2 separate regions of the Homo sapiens genome follow, and region 1 is linked to region 2. Evidence: promoter capture Hi-C in 16 types of primary human blood cells and fetal thymus (Javierre and others, 2016). All regions are on one chromosome and are shown on one strand. Each heading gives the region's core, a stretch centred on a gene start or on the middle of the fragment in contact. The rest is flanking DNA. Distances are from core to core; before and after follow the strand shown. Region 1 holds the start of VWA8 (von Willebrand factor A domain containing 8). Region 2 holds the start of SUGT1 (SGT1 assembly cochaperone of MIS12 kinetochore complex).

Region 1 (4,314 bases), core at 834-3,333, about 11 Mb after region 2:
TGTACATGATCTGTCTGCCAGATTTGACTTGTCTCAGCCTGACAAACTCTTGTATAATATATCCTACATGAATCATTTCAAACACTACCTTCTCTGTGAAGACTCCAGGTGCAGCAATCCACTCCACAGTATGTTGAACCTAAATCTCTTGACACGTGTCTCACTGTATTGCAATTCTTTATTTGCATATTTATCATCAATACCTAATGTGAGCCCATTGATTCACAGTATCTAGCAGGGTACTGTTTATACAGCAGTTACTCAATAAATGTTGTCGTTGGGAGGCTGAGGCAGGAGGATCACTTGAGGCCAGGAGCTTGAGACCAGCCTGGGCAACATAACAAGACTCCACTGCTACGAAAACAAAAACACAAAAATTAGCCAGGCACAGTGGTGCACGCCTGTAGTCTCAGCTACTAGGGAGGCTGAAGCAGGAGGATCACTCGAGCCCAGGAGTTCGAGGTTGCAATGAGCTATAATACTGCCGCTGCACCCCAGCCTGGGCAACAGAGTGAGACTTTGTCTCTAAAAAAAATAAAACTAGGCAAAAAATGTTGTTGAATGCTCTAACTTGTGTTGATCTCTCCATTGTCTTAACTCCAAGAGCTCTTAGTGCTTATATCAACCACTTTGCAAAATTGCCTTAGGTTGTTCTCCCATTCTTTCAGGTGTCTACTGAGTTCCAGCGAGATTAAATGGAGATATCTTGACCAAGGTATTCAATTCTTCTAGCCTCAGTTTCTTCATCTGTAAAACGGAGGATAATAATAGTACCTCAAAGCATTTTTATGTGAAATGGGATAATTCATTAAAATCTTGATACATACAATGTGCTCAAAGTAGGAAAAGCATTTTATAAGCTTACATCCTAAATTTATGTCTTAGGGTTGCTATGAGGATTAAATGAGAAGATACACATGAAACGAAGTCATAATATATTGTGTAACTACTTATTACCTTTATTTTCACTGTCTCCTCATCTAGGTTAGAAGCCTGGTTCAGCCTTCATTCCTCAAGTTCTTCCGCTGGATGCCCAAAGCCTTCCTTACCTAGCCTTGTTTGACTTTTACAGTCTCCACTCTAACACTCTCTTCTCAGCACTCATCACAGGGTCAGGCGCAGGGTAGGTGCTATGTATTTAGACAGTGGCAGCTCTAGAATTAGCAAGGTCTTTAGCTGAAAGTGAGGTCTTCTGCCTTCTTTTTGATGTTTGCTTGTATAACTTGTCTCAAATATTTTGCCTTAGTCAATTCACTGTGACATTTTGGGGATGCAGTCTAATTACATTAGGCTTAGTTTGCTTTGTGGTAGGACCATTTCCGATGTTGGAATGTACAAGAGGGAGGCAGCCTTAGCCAGTGTCCTACTTTTTCCTTTACTAAAGACATAAATCATCTTTATATAACTTTTGTATTACAGCATGACTAGAAAAGTGCTTGATCTGGATCCTTTCTGATATTTAAGCAATTTCCATCTATCACTAAGATGTGAATTTTTTCCTTAGAATTTAGGAAGCGGTAATAAAACACAGAAACAAACAACCACCACCAAAAGGACAAAGGGTAAAGCTTTCACGTACGGTTTGGAAACACTAGTGTGGTTACAATGAATCAAGACAGTTGTGAAAGTTCCCATCATCTTGTGCATGTTTTCTCCATTTCCGAAATCTGAAGCCGAATACAGGGAAAGCTCCCTATACTTACTGGGCCTTTAACTAAGAAACGAAGACTTGGGGCAAGCATCTGAAGAGTCACACCGACAAATGCTCCTAAAACCCTTGGCATTTACTGAACTCCTGAGATTCTGTGGGATCGCAGGGAAACGGCGGGTGAAGGCCTGGTGCATCCAGGTGAACAGACAGTCTCACGGACTGCGAGGCGCTTGCCAGAGCCCAGCGCCGCAGCTCGGAGCACCCCCGCGGTGCGGGCAGTCCCGGGACGGTGCCGGCTCTTTGGGCTGGAGCTCCGCAGGCTCTTTCCGCCCGTCTGGGCCATGCAGGGCCGGGTAGGGCCGGGCTGAGTCTACTGAGCCGGCCGCGCCGCGGGGGAAGGAGTTTCCGGCGGACTCGGCTAGGTGCCGCTTCCTGTCCCCTTCTCCGCGCTGCCTCACGGTGCCTGCACGGGACGCCGCTCGATCCCCGAGCCCCCTCGCCGTCCCCGACAGCCCCCCCGGCGCCATGCAATCCCGGCTTCTACTCCTCGGGGCACCCGGAGGCCACGGCGGCCCGGCCTCGCGGCGCATGCGGCTGCTCCTGCGGCAGGTGGTGCAGCGCAGGCCGGGTGGCGACAGGCAGCGGCCGGAGGTCAGACTGTTGCACGCCGGCTCGGGGGCCGACACAGGTAACTCGGGGTGCGCCCCTGTCCTCCCTGGTGCCCCTGCGCTCCGTGCCGGGTCCCCGCGCGCCCCCGCCCCTCCTCTCTGTTGCTTCGCTGCGCTTGGAAGGACCGTTTGCCGAGCGGGGAGCTGAAAGATTGAGGTTCTAGTCCCGACCTCGGCGCTAACTGCTGTGTAACGTGGGGGCAAGGCGCTCGCCCTCTCTGTGCCTGATTCTGCAACCCGAGGGGTCTGGACTAAGGTTTCTGATGACCTAGAAGAGTGATTTCTCCTTCCCCTGCCGCTGCCTTTACCCCCAGAATTCTGACTTAGGTTATAATACTCGTAGAGGTTAATGCCTCAGCCCTATGGAATTATTGAAAGCTGGATTTGACCTTGCTCTCTGAGCCTCAAGGGCCTGGAAGCCGGTCTGTGTCATGTTCTAGCCAGGGCTTGTGGCGGCTTAGAAGGGAACATTCTTGCCAAAGAACCCATAGTTCACGGTGTTTTAAATGCATCCCCGAGCCTTTCCAAGTTTTACAGGAGTTTTCCTTAAAGTTTCACGTAATTCTTAGAGCTGACAGTTACACCTTAATTTAGTTAAAACACTTGCCTCTACAAATGAGGTAATTGAAACCCAGAAGGGAAAAGTGATTCGCTGGAGAACACACAACTAATTACTATGCTAGAATCACATGCTTTGATTTCTAAGCTCAGTATTTTTTGGCTCTACTTGAGCTGGTTTTAGGAATTCTTTTTCTTGTGTGTTGGTGGAGTTAGAGTTACTGTGATGGTTAAGGAAAGGATATCTGTTGTTGCTACCCTTGAATGGTGAAGTGATTCCAGACAAGATTTTGTCAATGTCAGTGCTGCTTGGAATAACAGGTTTTCACTATGAAATTGTAGGTTTCGTTGTCCTCTTGCATTTTCCCCGCAACCCCCAGTTTTCCTTGCTAAGAAATGAGCATATGGGCCGGGCGCGGTGGCTCACGCCTGTAATCCCAGCACTTTGGGAGGCTGAGGCGGGCGGATCACGGGGTCAGGAGATCGAGACCATCCTGGCTAACACGGTGAAACCCCCGTGTCTACTAAAAAGAAAATACAGAAAAATTAGCCGGGCGTGGTGGCGGGCGCCAGTAATCCCAGCTACTCCGGAGGCTGAGGCAGAAGAATGGCGTGAACCCGGGAGGCGGAGCTTGGAGTGACCGGAGCCACTGCACTCCGGCCTGGGCGACAGAGCAAGACTCCATCTCAAAAAAAAAAAAAAAAAAAGCATATTTAGGTCCCACGTATTTCGTTTTATTCATTGAAGACATACACCACCCCCGTCCCCCACCATAGTGTTGCAATTTCAAATTTTACTTTTTGTTTTTTTTTTTTTTTTTGCTTTTTCTCAATTACTCTCACTTCTGGGCTGTTTATTCATTTGTTTTTTACATTTTTTGTGTGTTCTTTATTTGTTTTTTGCTCCTTTGCCCTAGAAGGCAGAGGTCAAAGGTGGAAGTATAGCATAAACTATAGGTTGGGTTTTGGAGTTAAACAATTTGGGTTGGAATCCACTTATCCACTATCTAACCATGGGTCGTTGAGGGTAGGTTACTTAACTTTGTGTCCTAGTTTTCTTAACTGTAAAAGGATAAGAAGAATATATCTATTATGGTTGTTGTGAGGATTTATTAATTAATATAATCTGTGGCACATATTAATGCTCAATAAAAGTTAGCTTTTTTATTCTTAGTATGTACAGTTTTAGCTATTTGAGAATTATTCTGTTTCCTTGCCTTTAGAAGACATGAAACCAAGTTTGTTTAGATTCAGGACTGTTCAGACTATCTGGGTAGGCAGATTTAGCCGAGTGAATTGACTTGAACTTTTTAAAAAACAATTGTTCTTTGTACATGGATAATACATGTTGATTGTAAAAACACATGTGGGTGTGAGTTTTTAAAGTCTGTATTATATACGTATTGGTAGATAAGTTGTAAATGTCCTCAAATTTTG
Region 2 (4,309 bases), core at 1,251-3,750:
CTGGCCTCACTGTCGCCTGGGCTGGAGTGCAATGGCGCGATCTCAGCTCACTGTAACCTCCACCTCCAGGGTTCAAGTGATTCTCCTGCCTCAGCCTCGCAGGTAGCTGATTACGGCTGCCCACCACCATGCCCGGCTAATTTTTTGTATTTTTAATAGAGACGGGGTTTCACCATGTTGGCCAGGCTGGTCTCGAATTCCTGACCTCGTGATCCGCCTGCCTCGGCCTCCCAGAGTGCTGGGACTATAGGCGTGAGCCACCGCGCCCGGCTGCACTTCTAATGAATTGCCAGGTGATGCTGATAATGCTGGTCCAAGAGCCATACATTAAAAACCAAGGTACTAATACTAGCCACATGACTATCCTAGGCAATTCTTCTCCTAGGTACATACAACCAAAAGAAATGCATGTGTTCACCAAAATACATGTACAAGAGTATTCACAGAAGCTTTTTGTTAGCTAATAACTAGAAATAACCCAGATGTCCACTGTTAGAATAAATTGCGCCGTACTTACGGCTATACAACATATATTTATACAATGGAATATTACACAGCAATGCGAAAGAACTACTACTTCACACAATATGAATGTATACTTATGTAATCATTAAAGCAAAAAGAGTGTCTACATTCAATAAAGCACCTACTGTATGATTCTGTTTATGAGTCAAGAACAAACAAAACTAACTGATGGTGATGGAGGTCAAAGCAGGAGTCAGCAGGACAGTAAGAAGAATTACTGGCTGAGAAGGCGCATTAAGGAGCATTATGAATGGAGATACTCTGTATCTTAATCTGGTGGTGTAAACATGTGAAAACTCATCAAACTATAGACTTAAAATCTGTGTTATTTACATAAATCATATATGCCTCCATAAAAATTTTTAAAGTAAAAGAAGATGGAAAGTGACAATAAAATTCATTATGTTAATACTGTTTAAAAGCAACTTTTATATAAACTGGATTCCCAAAGGAAGCACTAGGTCTAACACGACAATAACAAATGTAAATTAAAAGTCATAGCTGTCTAGCTAATACAAGAAATTATGGAGAAAAATTCTCAGTGCTTCCTGTAACATTATCCCCAAACTCATCCCAGAAGCCTTACTCCCAGTATCTAAAGGTCTATATATTTAGGTGTAAAAAACACACCTGGACCCTAAAAGGCCTTATAGGACCTGGCTCCTAGTTTCCTGTCCAACCTCTCTTAATCAAATGGGCCCTCTAATAAAAAGGGCCTTTTTGTTGCTTCACATACAGGCCAACTTCATTCCTACCTCAAGATCTGCACTGGCTCTTGGTCCTGCCTGGAATATTCTTTCCCCAGAGCTTCCAAGTTAATTCCCTTGTTCCTTCAAATCTCCACTCAAAGATCTCCTCAACGGAGGCTCTAGTACCATGTGGCACATTTCTTATAAAAGTCATAGCTAGAAAAGACGCTGTCTTGCCTCAAATTGTTAAACGTAACAGCAAAACAGGTTTCCTCTTTTCTGTGATTTAACGCAAAAACAAACAAAAACTCCTGGCTAAATTCTGTGACCCGCAGCATCATTTATCTTTAGGTTCTCCTTTAATTCTTATTATTTAACTCTTGATCTTTTACATTCCTTTACAGCTTTATGGTTTGCCTTCATTGCACACCTACAAAAAGTGATTTCTAGGTTAGCTGAGTATATAACCAAGACTTTAACCCACAGCAATCAGCGCCTTTGCACACAGCCACTCCAAAAAAAAATTTTGATGAATATACAAATGAGTGAATAATGAATTGTGATAAGACATCTGGAAAGTTTCAGGGACGTGAGGGAAAAGGGTTTTGCTCCAGTAGACTGACTTCATACCGACACTTTTACGTAAGAATGGCAAGAATTATTGTCAAACGAAAAAATTAACTTCATCGAGCCCAGAGTCCACTTCTCTAATCATAAATGTCATTAAAAAAAAAATCCTTTCAGCCAAACTACAAATGCCAACCATGCTCCCAAGAAATAGAGGAGGTTTTTCTCAGGAGCTGTAGGGAGTGGAAAGGGCAAGACAGGAGTCTGGGGTAACGCGGCTACCGTGTAACAGAGAAAAGAGACGGAGAATCTCAATACCGGAGCTGAGACGCAGCATCAACAAGAGCCTGGGTCCCTGTCCGGCGGTGCGGGGAGAAGGCGGGTCAGCGGGGACCCGAAGTGGCCCAGCTCCCCTAAGAAGAGTGGAGGAAGCAGAAATGGGCTCTCTCACCTCTAACGCCGCCTGGGGGTCCTCGTCGATTAGGGCATCCGAGAAGCTCTGGAAAAACCTGTCAGGAAAACAACGACTTCAGCAGGGCTCACTAGCCAAGGAAAGGGGGATAAAATAAATACCAAAGGGAAAGAAAAACATGCACCTCTGGGATGTTGCAGTTCCTGCTGCAGCCGCCGCCATCCCTCGTAGTCGCTGTTGCTGCCGCCGGAGCTGCTACTATCACGGTTACCACCTCCACCACCGCCCAAGGGGGAAACTTCTGGAGAAACACCAACCGAGCTTCCGTCCTAAATAGCCAGCGAGCAGCCACGCAGCGTGCTGCTAGGGGGACGGGAGGCGACACGCCGGCGCGGGGCCGGCTGGGACAGTGGAGGACCGATTCCTCCCAGCCGCACCCCGGCCCAGGACCCGCGCTCCCAGTCCCCGCCCCTCGCAGCCATGGTTACGGAGGCCTGGGGCGTACACGTTCTTCCTCCCTTCCACCGCGCCCACGCCAGCGGGCACTCCCACGGAGCTTTCAGTAGTACTTTAGAAGCACTTTTGTAACGTACTGTCATCCCTAAGGAACGTGTGGCGGTTAGGGGCGTTTGTATGTCTGTTAATAACGGAAGCTACTTCGAGCTCCCATTTTCCCTAGTTTTTATCATGGCTGCCACAGCTAGCCAAGCCCTTTCGCCTCCATTACGTCTTTAGCGGCTGCGTGGTCTCTTCCGGGAGCAGAGGCCCGGATGACGCGTGGATCCCCGCGATCTTTGGGCTGGGGATTCTAAACGACTGGGACTTGCCGGAAGTCATTCTGCACTAATAGCGGCAAAAAGCCTTCTGGTTCCTGGGGCGACGCGCCCGGCGGCCGTACTATTCACTTCCCCAGAACGCCACAGCCCAGGCTTTCTTCTTAGTGGGCTTCCCAGACCAAGAAGGGAAACCTTTCATCCGAAGGTACTGAGGGGAGGAAGGTGGCCTGAAGTTATCTCAGTGCCGCTTTGTTTCCCACCCCAGTCGGTCAGCCCTTCCTCAGCGCCCTTTAACCCTTGCAGATCGGATGGAGAAAGCTGCCAGCACGTTCTAGGGATGGGGGCAGATTGAGGAGCGGGAGGGAGTAGTCTTTGTCTAACTTTATACCAGTACCAAACTATGTTAATTTAATGTAGTTTTATAATAAATCTTTAAGTCCTGTAACTTATTCTCCCAAGATTGTTTTGGCTTATTCTACGGCCTTTGTATTTCTAGGTGAATTTTGGAATTAGCTTGTTAAAAAGGGGGGGGATTTTTTATTGGGCTCGCATTGAATCTATAGATCTGTTTGGGAAAACTAGTATCTTAACAACAAGTCCTTCAATCCATGAATATCATTCTTCCCCCACCATTTATTTAAGCGGTCTTTAATTTCTCCTGGCAATATTTTGTAGATTGCACATATATCTATATTTTAATGCAGCTGTGCTTGGATAGATTGCAGTATAGAGATCATATATATCTTTCATTAGATTTATTCTTGAGTATTTAGTGTTTTGTATACAATGTTAAATGGCATTTTGACTTTTTTATATTCTACTCGTAAGAATAAACAATATTGATTTTAACATACTGACCTTATATGCAAGCATCTTGCTAAGTTCCCTTGTTATTTGTAATACTCTGTAGATTCTTTCGGAATTTCTGTGATCAAAATCTTGCAATCCACGAATAAAGATGGTTTAACTTCTCTGTAACCTTTATACCTTTTATTTTTATTTATTTTTGCCTTTTGTTGCTGGCTAGTGTTTCCACTATTGAATAAAAACAGTGATAATGGACTTCCTTGTCTTGGTCATAACATCAGGAGGAAAGCATTGAATATCAACTGCTTTTTCTGCCTTTATTGAAATGTTCATTTGTATTTTTTAATGTTACTGTGAATTACCTTGGTTAGTTTTCAAATGTTATCTAAATGGCCAATTGTCCTTCTGGACCCCACTGACTCCAGTTGGGATGGCACTGTAAGAAGAGAGGCAGAGTCAGTGAAGGAGACAAGGTTTATTCAGGATTTACATACAAGGGTGGTCCGGTGGTGGAGGGCTGACCTGGAGAACTG

Evidence for each region. Contacts are between HindIII fragments. The CHiCAGO score rates a contact against its expected background, and 5 or more counts as called.
Region 1: a contact is called between the fragment with the promoter of VWA8 here and the fragment with the promoter of SUGT1 in region 2, in 1 of 17 cell types (total B cells). The highest score is 6.1, in total B cells.

What each region holds. Positions count from the first base shown.
Region 1 is chr13:41,958,878-41,963,191 of GRCh38, reverse strand. VWA8 (von Willebrand factor A domain containing 8) reads left to right here and starts at 2,083. Exons shown (of 45, transcript NM_015058.2): 1 at 2,083-2,339. The coding sequence starts at 2,177. It overlaps VWA8-AS1 (VWA8 antisense RNA 1), which reads right to left and starts at 2,023. Exons shown (of 4, transcript NR_039974.1): 1 at 958-2,023. RefSeq lists a silencer at 2,004-2,413 and enhancers at 2,614-2,753, 2,849-3,349, 3,350-3,850. The HindIII fragment of the contact is 5,183 bases long and covers 1,571-4,314 here.
Region 2 is chr13:52,651,027-52,655,335 of GRCh38, reverse strand. It overlaps SUGT1 (SGT1 assembly cochaperone of MIS12 kinetochore complex), which reads right to left and starts at 2,500. Exons shown (of 13, transcript NM_006704.5): 1 at 2,378-2,500; 2 at 2,233-2,290. The coding sequence starts at 2,415. SUGT1-DT (SUGT1 divergent transcript) reads left to right here and starts at 3,029. Exons shown (of 1, transcript NR_170300.1): 1 at 3,029-4,031. RefSeq lists enhancers at 2,020-2,139, 2,249-2,750, 2,860-3,199 and a silencer at 2,500-2,769. The HindIII fragment of the contact is 4,517 bases long and covers 452-4,309 here.